Regions from separate parts of the Homo sapiens genome. Here regions 2 and 3 are each linked to region 1. Evidence: promoter capture Hi-C in 16 types of primary human blood cells and fetal thymus (Javierre and others, 2016). All regions are on one chromosome and are shown on one strand. Each heading gives the region's core, a stretch centred on a gene start or on the middle of the fragment in contact. The rest is flanking DNA. Distances are from core to core; before and after follow the strand shown. Region 1 holds the start of ARID5A (AT-rich interaction domain 5A). Region 2 overlaps CNNM4 (cyclin and CBS domain divalent metal cation transport mediator 4). Region 3 overlaps SNRNP200 (small nuclear ribonucleoprotein U5 subunit 200).

Region 1 (4,720 bases), core at 1,320-3,819:
GCTGGAAGCAGATGAAAGTGGGCCAAGAGGACAGATGGGGCAAGGGGTTCCAGCACTGCATGGCTGCACCTCTTACCAAGTTGGTCACTGGTTCTGTATCTCCCTTTCCCCATCTACAAGATGGGCGTGCTAGACTCAATGTGCCCAATGTTCTCAGCAGAAAAAAGTGAGAAGAGAAAGGAGGCTTCCCCCACAAACCACAGCCAGGCTCAGTGAGAAGATCAGAGGCCTGCCTGTCCTGCTCCCTCCCCAAGGCACCTCGCTGCCCAGCAGGTGCTCCGGAAACATCAGCCTCCTGGGTGCAGGATGAGCGCAATGGACTTACAGACCCCTGTTGCCCAGAGAGGGGCAGTGACTAGTACAAGGCCACACAGCTCTCAAGTTTAAGGGTCTGCTGGAGGCACACACCCCTTTCCTTCTCTCCCTCCCCATCTTTCTGCTGCCCGCCCCACTCACCCTGGGTGTGATGGGAAGGAAGTGACACTTCCTTTCATGAAAAGTCACCGACTGGGAACACTGCGTCAATTACCACAATAATGGTAACAGCAGCCTCAATAACAACCAGCAGACGCCGCCCCGCCCCCTCGGCTGAGGTTGTTGGCTTAAGTTTCTCTAAGCTTGAGCTGGAGCAAAACAAAGACAGCCTTTGAAGCGGCGAAACGGCCGGTCCACTCGGCAGCCCGGGAGCGGCGGCCAGGCCGAGTCTACGCGAGCTTGCTCCAGCAGTTTGGGGAGGGGGGCCTGCCAAGTGTTGAGCTGGAGCCAGCAGTGAGAAGAAACGCGATGGGCCTGGGACCCCCACTCCCTAACAGGGCACAGGTGCAGCTCAAGCCACAGCCCAACCTCAGTACCTCAGCTTGGGGGAGGGCGAGAGAGACAGGGTCTGGGGGCAGCTGAGGCCACAAGAGCCACCAGAGGGTACAGAAAGGGAAGGAGGTGCGGGGGACACTGAATGTGAGGCTACCAACTTCCAAGCCCCATTCTCCCTGTCCCTCTTACCGGGCTCTGGGATGTCCTAAAAGCCCCAGTTCCAGGATGGGACTGTCCCTCCCCACGGAGTCTGGGCCACATTTGGTGGTGACGGACAGTGAGAGCTCCTCAGATGGTTTCGTGTGTTCCCATTTCACCTACGGGGCAGAGGCTCAGAGGTGCCAGTTGACGTCTCTCAACTGTAGAAGCAGATTATCGGAGGCCCTTTCTACCTCTGCCACACCAAGTTCTAGGCCCCAGGCGGGTCCCTAAGGCCTGGATTGGGCTCTGAGCTCTGCTGCGGGGTGAAGCCCTCGAGCCCCGACCTCCCACCCCTCCTGTGCTCTAGCGTTGCCTGTAGGCGCAGTGACGCCACCGTGCGTGTGGGCTCCCACCAGAGGAGCCCGGGTGGGGCAAGAGGCACCTGTTGTCCTCCCCTGGGGCCCGCGGAGCACTCCTTACTGGCCCAAGACTCTGCAAACAAAGGGACACTGGACCCGCAGCGCCTTGGGACCCCCTGGGCCCTCGGGGGTCCTGCACCGCGCAAGCCCCACCACGCCGGCGCTGGGCGGAGGGTGACGCGACCCCAGCCCGGGCGACCCCTAGACACCGCGGAGGGACGGAGCGCGGGCCCGGGTTGGCCCGCAGCTCCCGCCGAGCGCGAAGCCGGGCATCGCCTGCAAGCTCGTAGCCCACGCTCTTGCCCTCTTCCCCTGACGCTCCCCAGCCGCCACCCCGTCCCTTCTGCAGACCGAGGGAAGACAAGGGGACACACAAGGGACAGGAGAGGAGAGCAACCAGGGAAGCGACCCCTCTCCTGTGGGGCTGCGGCGGGTGGGCGGAGAGACAGGAGAGGAAAAGAGAAAAGGGAAGAGAAGGAAGGGGCAGGGGGCGAGAAGCCGGGCTCCCCGGACCATCGGCGCAGCCCGCGGCCGAAAGAGGAACAGTGGATCCTACAAAGCGCATTGAGCAAGTTCTTCACACCCGCGCAGCCCCTTTCAGGAAACGGCGGCCGCAGAGGAAAGGGCCGCGCGCTCTGGACCCGGAGTCTGTGCCCGGCGGCGCCGCGGTTCTGAAACCTGCGGGATGTCACGGGGCGGAGGGGCGGCTGCCGACAGCTGTCACAACAAATTAGCTGAGCCCAGCTCGAGGTGGAAACCGCAGCAGGAAGTGGGACGACAGAGCCGTACCGGGCTCGGCATATTTCAGGCAAGAGACGGCGAAAAGAGTTTCGAGATAAACGCCCGGGAAGCCCCTGGCCGCCAAAACTTTTTGTCTTTCCTTTTCTCGAAGCTCGCGCGGACGCCCAGCCTCACCCCTTCCGCGCCGGCCGGGGAGCGCTGAAGCCGCGGGCCGGGCTCGCTCCCCTTGGCCCGCGCCCCGAAACCCACCCCGGGCCCCTCTCCGCCCCACACAGCGCACCGACTGCCACGAGGGCTGGAGGGGACCCGGCGCCGGCACCTTGAACCTCCCTGCAGGGCCGCCGAGCCCCTGTCCGGGCCGCGCCGCAGAGCCGCTTACCCATGGCCCGGAGAGGTCCCGCGGCGCCCGCCCCGAGACCCTCAGCGCGCGGCTGTCCGGACCCCGCGCTCTCTGAGATACTGGCTCGCGGCGCGGCCCGCCGGCCACCTCCCCGCAGTCCCGCCCCGTCCCGCCCCTGCTCGCCCCACTCCGGGCTCCCATTGGTAAGCCCGGCTTCGTCGCGCGGAGAAGGCGGGGGGCGGGGACCGCCCTTGAGTCCGGGGACCTCTGGGAATTGTAGTGCGCGCCCCTCGCCTCTAGGCTTTCAGACTGGAGCCCCTGGAATAGGCTCCTCACCTAGAGGAGCGGAGGCAGGACCCTCAGTAATCATTGCTGCCTTGTGCCTCAGTTTCCCTGGAGGCAAAACTAGAGCCTTGGAAAAAGCCTCCTTGCTTTCAGCAGAGCACTGAGGACTCTGTGGAGCGAGCAAAGTGCTTCTGACTTTGATTTGAAAGTGGCCCTGTGCATTTCCCAGTCCCCACCTAGCCCAACAAAGAAGGCCAGGTGAGGCCGGGAGCGGCGGCTCACGCCTGGAATCCCTGCTTTGGGAGGCGGAGGCGGGAGGATCACTTGAGCCCAGAAGGTCGAGGCTGCAGTGTGTTTTGATCACACCACTGCACTCTATCCTGGATCCTGGGCAATAGACGGAGACCCTGCCTCAAAAAAAAAAAAAAAAAAAAAAAAAAAAAAAAAAAGGAGAGGTGGTTAGTGTGAGCTAGACAAGGACCAAACTAGTAAATCCTTGGCCTAGGCTCTGTGGCCAGGCCTGCCAGTAATAGTCAATGTCCACACACATAATGCAGACAGAGTGTGGCAGCTACAAGCTGAGTAGTCCAAAGAAGGGGCATGAGTTCAGGCTGTGGGAGGTGGGAATGAGGCCTAGGGCGAATGGAGGCAGGAGGAGGTGCCCAGCCAGCCATAGCAGCAACCTGGACCTGTGCAGGCCAAAGAGGAAGAAATGGAGGCTCAGGGTTTCAGTCTCAGCAGGTGGCTAGCTAGGATGGGAACCCTGTTCCTAGCACATAGAAGCTACACAAAAATCTTTGTTGATGAATTTTAATACTCATAATAGCTCTATGCACTTGACACCATCATTGTCCTCATTTTATAGCGTAAAACTGAGGTCTGAGAGATTAGCTCAAGTAGCACAGCTGGTAGGTGTTGGAGCCAGAGCTAGACCCAGGAAGAGGAGCCCTCATACCCAGGCATCCCCCCACCCGCTTTGCACCCATTACTAACCACTCATCATACTGGTGCCCCTCCTCACACTAAACGAAGGGACCAGGGCTGCAGTTTGGTGAACCTGAAACCCTGGCCCTTACCCTTTGGCCCTGGGATGGAAGATGTCTGCAGGCTCAGTCTAGAGCAGACGACCCTGTGGGCTCTGCAGGATAAATCCCCTGTCTACCTCATAATGGGTTGGCTTGTAAGAGCCAGCACCTGTAGAATTGGTAATAGACACCCAGAACAATCATAATGGTAATTATAACAATGCATCCCACTTTGGCAAGTTTACAAGCCACTTTCCCCTCCAGGAAAGCTAAGGCTGTGGTGGAAGACACTATGATGGGATGCCATCAGGAAGCACCTTTGTACATTCTGGAAGCATTGATTGGCAGGCACTATGCCCAAGGTTGGGGATGGAGCTCTGGATGCAGCCCCCGGGGTCACAATCTAGGCCAACCCCTCACTTGTGGGTTGGATACCCCTAATGACAAGGAACTCACTATCTTATAAGACAGCAGCTCATCCCACCAAGAGTTAGGGTTATTCTGCCATCCGGGCAGCTGGGCACATTCTGACAGACAAGGGCTGTTGTGCAAAGCCTCAGCAAGTCAACACCTGCCTGTGCCAGCCTGGGAACGATAGGATCTAAATTTAATTGCTTCCTGAGGCAACTGTTTGCAATAGAAAGTAATTTACAATGGCCAGTAAATCCTGCAGAAAACAGACATCTCCATTCATCTGGCTAAAAGCATAAACACTTCCATTGCTCAAGCCTCCATCTCACACACCTCCACTCCGGCCCAAAGCCACCCTCCTCTGCACCCTCCAACCACAGGATCCCAGGCCAGGACGCCTCTGTGCCTACAGAGGGGGTCAGCTAGCCCCTCAGTGTCCTGGTGTCTCTCTGTGTGTCTTAATAATAAGAAAAACAAACCATCACTTATAAATAAACACATTCGTCCTGTAAAAACATGCAAGTAAATCAGCCCTCTCTGATGCTACA
Region 2 (4,720 bases), core at 976-3,475, 250 kb before region 1:
CTCTTAAAAAGGCTGACTCAGACATGAATTTATCTCAAGAGACGGTGATTCACTATTTGTGTAAAGTAAAAAGTTCCAAAACAGTAGAGTAGGAAGGACTGCTGGTTTCCTTCACTTTTGCTTAATGCATTTTATACTTCACATGCTATTTTTTATTTTTACTCTTCTAATTAGACACTATTTTCATATTGGGGGAGAAGCAATATCATTTGTTGCTGACTTGGTAGAAGAAAATACACCAAAATATCCACATTTTGGATGATGGGATAAGAGTGACTTTTTTTTTTTTTTTTTTTTTTTTTTGAGACAGAGTCTTGCTCTGTTACCCAGGATGGAGTGCAGTGGTGCGATCCCAGCTCACTGCAACCTCCGCTTCCCAAGTTCAAGCCATTCTCATGCCTCGGCCTCCCAAATAGCTGGGATTACAGGTGCCTGCCACCACGCTGAGCTAATTTTTTGTATTTTTTAGTAGACGGGGTTTCACCATGTTGGCCAGGTTGGTCTGGAACTCCTGACCTCAAGTGATCTGCCCACCTGGGCCTCCCAAAGTGCTGGGATTACAGGCATGAGCCACCGTACCTGGCCATGTGACTTTCATTTCTTAATCATTTTCCACTTTTCTAAGTTTCTCTAATACACTACTTTTTAAGAACTTTTTTTTTTTTTTTGAGACAGAGTCTTGCTCTGCCACCCAGGCTGGAGTGCAATAGCACGATCTTGGCTCACTGCAGCCTCTGCCTCCCAGGTTCAAGCAATTCTCCTGCCTCATCTCGAGTAGCTGGGATTACAGGAGCATGCCACCATTCCTGGCTAATTTTTGTGTTTTTAGTAGAGACGGGGTTTCGCCATGTTGGCCACGCTGGTTTCAAACTCCCTACCTCAGGTGATCCACCCACCTCAGCTTCCCAAAGTGCTGGGATTACAGACGTGAGCTGCCGCGCCAGGCCTATCTTTACTTTTTAAAAATTATTTTTATCTTTTTTTTTTCTTTATTTGAGACAGAGTCTCACTCTGTTGCCCAGGCTGGAGTGCAGTGGCGTGATCTCAGCTCATTGCAAGCTCCACCTCCTGGGTTCACACCATTCTCCTGCCTCAGCCTCCTGAGTAGCTGAGACTATAGGCGCCCGCCACCATGCCCGGCTAATTTTTTGTATTTTTAGTAGAGATGGGGTTTCACCATGTTAGCTAGGATGGTCTGGATCTCCTGACCTCGTGATCCACCGCTTCAGCCTCCCAAAGTGCGTGAGCCACTGCGCCTGGCATTTTTATCTTTTTTTAGAGACAGGGTCTCTCTCTGTTGCCCAGGCTGGACAACAGTGGTACAATCATAGCTCACTGCAGCCTAGAGTTCCTGGGCTCAAATAATCCTCCCACCTCAGCCTCCAGAATAGCTGGGACTACCGGCACATGCTACCACGCCCAGCTAATTTTTTTATGTTTTCTTTTTTGAGACAAAGGTCTCATTCTGTGGCCCAGGCTGGAGTGCAGAGTGACACGATCACAGCTCACTGTAGCCTCGGCCTCCTGGACTCCACTGATCCTCCCACCTCAGCCTCCCAAGTAGCCTGGATTACAGGCCATCATGCCTGGCCAACTTTCGTATTTTTTGTAGAGATGGGGTTTCGCCATGTTGCCCAGGTTGGTCTCAAACTCTGGGGCTACAGGAATCCTCCTGCCTCAGCCTCCCAAAGTGCTAAGATTACAGGTATGAGCCACTGCACCTGGACTTCGGTTTTACTTCTTTAAATTTTTTCTGTGTTCATTCTATAATACATGTACTAGTATAACAGCACATGTACATAATTTTTGATTGAATGGAGGCACAAACTAAAAAGAAAAAAAAAGGTTTTAAAATAGGGGCAAGATGAAAAGCTTGAAGAGCTCCCTTTAGAATACCCCGTAAATGCTGGGCACAGTGGCTCATGCCTGTAATCCCAGCACGTTGGGAGGCTGAGGCAGGAGGATCATCTGAGGTCAGAAGTCTGAGACCAGCCTGGCCAACATGATGAAATCCTATCTCTACTAAAAACACACAAATTAGCTGGGCGTGGTGGTGCCCACCTATAATCTCAGCTGCTCAGGAGGCTGAGGCATGAGAATCGCTTGAACCCGGGAGGCAGAGGTTGCAGTGAGCCAAGACTGCAACACTGCACTCCAGCCTGGGTGACAGAGCCAGACTCTATCTCAAAAAGAAAAAATAGCCCCATAAAGATAGCTATGCCTCAGTTGCCTCTTCGCACAGGACATGGTCAACCTCCCCCTGCCACCAACCTGTCTGGGTGACCATGTTCCCAGGAGAGAGTTGCCCTACATCTACTGTCAATCCCACTCTTCCTAGGAGGAAGCTAAGGCCCAGAGAAGTCATGCCCAGGGTCACACCCCAAGGGGTGATCAGGCTGGGATACAGAAATGGGACTTCTGCTACAGATAGCCTTCTTCCTTTAATACAAGCCCATAGTGGGTGAAGCTATTGACAAACTGATGATGGGGACTCTAAGACTGGCCCCTCACCCTGGGGACAGGTCTTTATGCCTCTGATTTTCCATTTAGCTAGTAGTCTCTAGATTTTTAAGCTTTTACTATGGAAAATATCAAGCATCTACAAAAGTAGAGATAATAATCTAATTACACCCTCACCTAACAATTAACAGCTCCTCATGACCAGCCTTTCTTCCTCGCTACTCCCACTTGCTCTACTCACTGATTTTGAAGCAAAGCCCAGGTTTTATCTGTAAACATGTATACATTTTACCTGAAAATATTTAGTATTTCAATATGTATCTCTAAAAGATAAGGACTTTTTTTTTCTTTTTTTTTGAGACAAGGTCTTGCTGCCACCCAGGCTAGAGTGCAGTGGCACGATCCTAGCTCACTGCAGCCTCGACCTGCTGGGCTCAAGTGATTCTCCCGCCTCAGCCTCCTGAGGAGCTGAGGCAACAGGCATGAGCCACTGCACCCAGCTAATTTTATTTTATTTCATTTTATTTTATTTTCGTAGAGACAGAGTTTTTTTCTGATATCGGTAACAAAAGTGGAAGGAAGAAAACTAAGATCACTTATAATCCTGCCTTCCAAAGATAACTACTGTTAACTGTGTATTTTCTTTGGTGTTTTAAAATGGATATATATAGATAAAATATTTCCACCACAAATTGGATCACATATATTGTTTTGTACGCTGCTTTTTAAATTCTTTACATTCTTTGTATTTTCCCATGTCACTAAAAAGTTTTATAAAAAACAGAATGACTTCATAACATGTCATTGTACAGATGCATACACAATCCCAGTCCCCATTGGGCTCTTAAATTGTGCCTTCTCCCCGTTTTTGCCATATGAATATCCTTGTGTATAAATATATGTAACTGTATCTCCATGTCCTTAAGATAGGAGTCAAAGAAAGGGTTTTGTGTGTTTAACTTTCTGAAGTTCCCTAATAAGTCAGTTCAGACTTAATGCTTCCTAGAAGACACAGTCAGGACAATTAGGAAATCAGGCATCAGGAGACCAAAAATGGCAGGTTTCAGAAGCTACGGCTGTCAGAAAGCAAGGAGAAAAACAAGGAACTTGAGCCATCTGCTGAAGAAAAAGAACATGAAGTGGAGAGAGGAGTGAACTGTGTCCCACCCAGACGCTGGTCCCTGGGAGCAGGATCTCTCCGTGGCCAGGAGGTGCAGGGGGTCCCAGCAGTCCTACCAGCACCATCAGCGTCCTTCTGAGTTCAGACCCTTCCAGCAAACTGCTTCTTCCTTTCCACCCAGTCCGTATTCTCAGAAGCACCTCTGGCATTTTCTCCTGGAACTGCAGAGCTGGAAGCATGGCTCACAGCCATCTCGCCCCTGCCCCAGCATCCCCTACCAGAGGTGGCAGGGAACCCCTTCCCCGCTGTACCTTTGCTCAATTGCTTACAGAGAGGCACAGCTCACTCATGGCCTTGTGAGGCTCCATTCTTTGAACCTTTTTGGCAACCAGCTAATAATCCACAGGCAAATCAACCTAAAAGTGAGACCATTAATTTTTTTTTATTTATAATTTTTAAAATAGAGACAGAGTCTCACATGTTGACCAGGCTGGTCTTGAACTCCTGACCCCAAGAGATCCTCCCGCATTGACCTCCCAAAGTGGTAGGATTACACGTGTGAGCCCCCATTCCCAGCGTGGACCACTATTAAAGAGCCCACAGGTCCCATGTTGATCCTAAAGACTTAACCGAAATTCTGTTAAATACTTTGCTGAAATACATCTATTCTGGGACTAGCTTTCCATTGCACTAACCTAGTAATCCTACCCTCCCCAACATACACAAAAGAAATGAAAATTAGCTTTTTTTCCCCTTAGTAAACCCCAGTTGGTTCCTGGTCATCATATACTGTTTCCAAATGTTTACAAACTACTAAAATCATTCCAAGGAATCATTGATGTCAAACAGAGAGGAAAACTATAGCAACAGTTGAGGTGATGCCAGAGGCTGATACTGGTTGTTAGGTGTAGGAACAGAAGGGGAGGAAGAGGACAAGAATATTACTTGCTCACTATCAAACAATTATTTTTCCTGCCATTAAAGAAAAAAAAATGATATGGTATCTTTCTTCAGTTTAACAGCGGGAAAACAATTATAGTCTCATCTGTCTCATGAGCATAAATGCCAAAATTCTTTTTTTTTTTTTTTTGAGACAATGTCTCACTCTGTCGCCCAGGCTAGAGTGCAATGGTGCAATCT
Region 3 (4,720 bases), core at 1,422-3,921, 250 kb after region 1:
CTGCTTCCTGCTGCAGGTGCCCTGGGGCTGTGAGTATCTCGTGACTGTAGCAAACTGTGGCTTCTCCTTAGGTGCTGGTGTTTGTCCACTCCCGGAAGGAGACTGGAAAGACAGCCAGGGCCATCCGGGACATGTGCCTAGAAAAGGACACTCTGGGTCTGTTTCTGAGGGAGGGCTCAGCCTCCACAGAAGTCCTGCGAACAGAAGCTGAGCAGTGCAAGGTGAGGAGGGGCCAGCTGGGTTCTCTCATTCCTACCTGGCAGCTGTGTCCATCTCAGGCCCCAGACAGCTCCTCTAGGACTGTACTGTGGTATTGTTGTTTCCCATGGGTTAAGGTTGATTGTCTGGATGTGATTATTACTATTCCACATAATAGTTAAGGGGCAGGGTCTCATGGGAGGAGATTTCCTTAGTCCTTGGATGAGTCCTACAGGAAGGCTCGCCTCATCCCCGGTTCTTTGTTCCACAGAACCTAGAGCTGAAGGATCTTCTGCCTTATGGCTTTGCTATTCATCACGCAGGCATGACCAGGGTTGACCGAACACTCGTGGAGGATCTTTTTGCTGATAAACATATTCAGGTGAGGGGGTGCAAAGCGTTTGGAGGAGCAGGTGGGACATACTTCAGAAGATGGGCAATGTCAAGTTTGTGCCATGTTTGCTCCTGGTACTTTATTGCTTCTGGCCCAGCTAGCCCAGGTCAGAGGGTTGTGGTGGACACAATAAATAGAACCTTATGCTACTCTCCCAACTCTTCCCACCTTGCTTGAGTTTAGGATAGTCTGAGAAGCATAGTGAAGCAAGCACTTTGGTGACTTCAGATAGCTCCAAACAGTGTCTCATGGGGGCACGCGTGCCCTTGTCGTTCCCTCTTTCCGGATAGGCTCTGTTTTACCTTTTCTAGTAACTTTAAGGTTGTTTAATACAAGTCTGCACTTGTGCCTCTGGAACCTTGAAATGTTCATTACTGAATAGATGAGGAACCCAAGGAAACCTTTCCTCTTTATTCTGGTGTCACATTGACAAGTACTGGGACCCCACGCGCCCTACCGGCTAGTCCTGAGAGAAGCTCTGAGGCCAACTGCCTAGAGAAGCCAGGGATATTAACCCCTGGTGATGGCATCTGTTCTCCTCATTACCTTGTTTTGCCTCTGTAGGTTTTAGTTTCCACAGCAACTCTAGCTTGGGGTGTGAATCTCCCTGCACATACAGTCATCATCAAAGGCACCCAGGTGTACAGTCCAGAGAAGGGGCGTTGGACAGAACTGGGAGCACTGGACATTCTGCAGGTACAGAGCCTTTTGAGTTTATTCTCAGCAGGGATCAGTATCCTTGCCTGAAATGCAGGGATGCTGGAAAGCTAGCAGATCAGAGGTCTAGTTCTGTAATGTAGATACCTGCATCAAAATTCAGACATTCTCTTGACATAGCATTCTTGGTTCGCTGTCTCTGATCTAGATGCTGGGACGTGCCGGAAGACCCCAGTATGACACCAAGGGTGAAGGCATACTCATCACATCTCATGGGGAGCTACAGTACTACCTGTCCCTCCTCAATCAACAACTTCCTATTGAAAGCCAGATGGTTTCAAAGCTTCCTGACATGCTCAATGCAGAAATCGTGCTAGGAAATGTCCAGAATGCCAAGGTAGGGGAGGACTGCTTGTTGTGCTTCATGCTTTCCCCGCAGACACCAAGGCACCAGGAGTGGGTCGGTCCCTATTGTGCTGCGGGCCAGCAGCGTCCGAGGCCTTCCATCCCTGCACCCACATCTTGGGTCTGGCAGATAGTTCCCCTTGTTACCAAGATCTTAGAAGACGCTTAGATCTTTTTAATAATGAAATGCTAAAAACATTCAGAATACGATGTAATATGCATCCTTGTAGTTGGGAATTAATTTCTAAGCAATTCATGGGAGCCTGTCATTTGGACATCAAGAGTTTCTCCATGCTAAGAACCATGAGCTGTGTCTTGTAGGATGCGGTGAACTGGCTGGGCTATGCCTACCTCTATATCCGAATGCTGCGATCCCCAACCCTCTATGGCATCTCTCATGATGACCTCAAGGGAGATCCCCTGCTGGACCAGCGCCGACTAGATCTGGTTCATACAGCTGCCCTGATGCTGGACAAGAACAATCTGGTCAAGTACGACAAGAAGACGGGCAACTTCCAGGTGCGTGGGGTGAGGGTTTTGAGGCAAAGGTCTCAGCAAAAGTTGTTGGCCCAGGAAAAAATTTTTCAGATTGCTCTCTTGATGTGAGTACTGCCTATCTAATCACCTGTTGCTTAGAACAGCAGAAAAATGGGTAGCTTTTCCCATAACTTGAGGTGGATAATTCAGCTGTCTTGTCCGTGCAGACATCATTTCACTATGGGTCAGCTTATTCTGCTGTTTTTCTTCATGTGCCTGGGCCTGGCACTTGTACTGCTGTGACTTCATCCAGTTGTCCTATTAGGACAATAATGACATTGGGTCATATACTTTACCAAAAAAAAAGTACAAAAAACCTATAGGACAGTAACTTATGGTCCACAGTTAGAGGTTGGAGCTCATTAATAGTCAGCACTGGATTGAGTCTACCTTCTCTCCAGGTGACAGAACTGGGCCGTATAGCCAGCCACTACTACATCACCAATGATACAGTGCAGACTTACAACCAGCTGCTGAAGCCCACCCTGAGTGAGATTGAGCTTTTCAGGGTCTTCTCATTGTCCTCTGAGTTCAAGAACATCACAGTGAGAGAGGTGAGCCTATGCAGCATGATGGGGCGGGGAGTTGGTGCTCACCAAGTCACTGAATGGTGTCCCTCCTCGGCCACAAGGCTTTCCCTTGACCTTTTCCTCCTTGTGGCAGGAGGAGAAGCTGGAGCTGCAGAAGTTGCTGGAGAGGGTGCCTATCCCTGTAAAGGAGAGCATTGAGGAACCCAGTGCTAAGGTGAGCTCCTCTCCTCTTTGCTTTGATAAGGATGAGGATTAAGTGGTTTTCATAATCTTCTAAAAGATGAACCTTGAATTTGGGTTCATGTGTGGTTTCCTGCTCAGTTCTCCTAGTTTTTGCAGCCTTCTCGCATGTTCTTTTTATATGAAATAACAATTATTTAGTATTTGTAAATCAAGACCTGTAGCAAATCTCACCTGGCCTGGATGCTCAGAGCAGAAATGTAATTCCCTTTCTTGGACTGTTCAGTGATTGGTCTCCTGCTGGCTGATTTTGCTTCTTTACAGATCAACGTTCTTCTGCAAGCCTTCATCTCACAGCTGAAATTGGAGGGCTTTGCACTGATGGCTGACATGGTGTATGTCACACAGGTGAGAGCGGAGTTGTATGGCAGCTGTGAGAAGGGGCCTGAACAGTTCAATCCCTGTGTGCTGTGTGCATCCTGGGGAAAGGAGGCCCGACCCTAGTGAGATGGGAGGAGTGCTTAGTTCTGCTCTTGCCGGGTAGTTGGTTGGTGCATGTGTGGTACAGCCACTCTGTAGTATACATCTTGAGCACGTGGGAAAGGTAAGACCTTAAGAGGGAATGCTTCGAGGCTCCACGGGCCCTCAGAGAGACAGGAAGAGCCACAGCACGCAGTGTCTGCTTCCCAGCAGCAAAGTGATTTCCCACTGTTGCTGCACAGCTCATAAATAAATCCAAAAATGGCACAGGGTTTTATTAGCTGCTCTTCATCTTTACCTCTAAGAACAGGTCACTGGTACCCTCAACTCTTCCTAGAACTCTAAATGCTAAATGACTCAAAAGCTTTAAAATCATGCAGTGAATGTTAGGTTAAAATGTTGTGCAGTGACCTTGAGCCGCAGCACTCTTCTAATTGTTCCCCATCCGGCAAGCATCTACTATATGGAACGGAGAAAGGCGTAAAGACAGAGGGGACTTTGCCTTTGAGTTAGGGTGGGTGGTTGTGTCAGAGCTGGAGGTAATGAAACCGTGTGTAGAGTGGCTCATGAGGCCTGGGGATAGTCGAGACTTAACAGTGGGAATGCTGCTTCTTTGCTTAGTCGGCTGGCCGGTTGATGCGAGCGATATTTGAAATTGTCCTGAACCGAGGTTGGGCACAGCTTACAGACAAGACCCTGAACCTCTGCAAGATGATCGACAAACGCATGTAAGGACCCAGTGAGCTGGATGCTGGTCACCATGAGTGGGGGTCCCCAACCCAAGGGTCTGATGGGAAAGCCTCAGGGTGCATCTGATCTCCAGACCTGACATCGGAAGTATGACCTGAACCTTGGTGCACATTGAGAAGAGGGAAGGCCCTCTGTGGTGGAGGCCAGGGCTGGCACAGTGTCAGTGTCTGCCTTTAATGACTGTGTTTTGTGTAGTCACTGCTAAACTATTGGAAGCCATGAAGTGGGTGGTTTGTCACATCCCTGCAGAAGGGACCAACAGCTTTGCCTCCTTCCTGGATAGGTGGCAGTCCATGTGTCCTCTGCGCCAGTTCCGGAAACTCCCTGAGGAAGTAGTGAAGAAGATTGAGAAGAAGAATTTCCCCTTTGAGCGTCTGTACGACCTGAATCATAATGAGATTGGTGTGTGGGATGCTCTCGCCCTTGTCCTCACTGCCTGGGTGTCTCTCCCAGTTTGCCTATGTAGTCTTCCTGTTCCTAGGCCTGTGCATTAGTATCCTGTGTTCACTCCCCAAGTCCCACTGAAGTACAGGCTGGCCCTTGGTCTGGGGACTTGGAATCCTGGGCTCCACTGACCATAAAGGGAAGA

The links. Contacts are between HindIII fragments. The CHiCAGO score rates a contact against its expected background, and 5 or more counts as called.
Region 2: a contact is called between a fragment that was not itself captured here and the fragment with the promoter of ARID5A in region 1, in 1 of 17 cell types (M0 macrophages). The highest score is 5.3, in M0 macrophages.
Region 3: a contact is called between a fragment that was not itself captured here and the fragment with the promoter of ARID5A in region 1, in 2 of 17 cell types (total CD4 T cells and naive CD8 T cells). The highest score is 5.4, in total CD4 T cells.

Annotation. Positions count from the first base shown.
Region 1 is chr2:96,534,601-96,539,320 of GRCh38, reverse strand. ARID5A (AT-rich interaction domain 5A) reads right to left here and starts at 2,569. Exons shown (of 7, transcript NM_212481.3): 1 at 2,491-2,569. The coding sequence starts at 2,494. RefSeq lists enhancers at 248-793, 1,011-1,130 and silencers at 1,401-1,610, 2,291-2,650. The HindIII fragment of the contact is 5,212 bases long and covers 620-4,720 here.
Region 2 is chr2:96,782,362-96,787,081 of GRCh38, reverse strand. The region is part of intron 1 of CNNM4 (cyclin and CBS domain divalent metal cation transport mediator 4); the gene reads right to left. Among named protein-coding and RNA genes, the nearest start is that of MIR3127, 14 kb to the left of the region's middle. The HindIII fragment of the contact is 701 bases long and covers 1,875-2,575 here.
Region 3 is chr2:96,287,252-96,291,971 of GRCh38, reverse strand. It overlaps SNRNP200 (small nuclear ribonucleoprotein U5 subunit 200), which reads left to right. Exons shown (of 45, transcript NM_014014.5): 17 at 72-221; 18 at 470-580; 19 at 1,157-1,288; 20 at 1,458-1,646; 21 at 1,976-2,173; 22 at 2,593-2,745; 23 at 2,855-2,935; 24 at 3,226-3,309; 25 at 4,003-4,109; 26 at 4,415-4,533. Among named protein-coding and RNA genes, the nearest start is that of SNRNP200, 16 kb to the left of the region's middle. The HindIII fragment of the contact is 2,153 bases long and covers 1,595-3,747 here.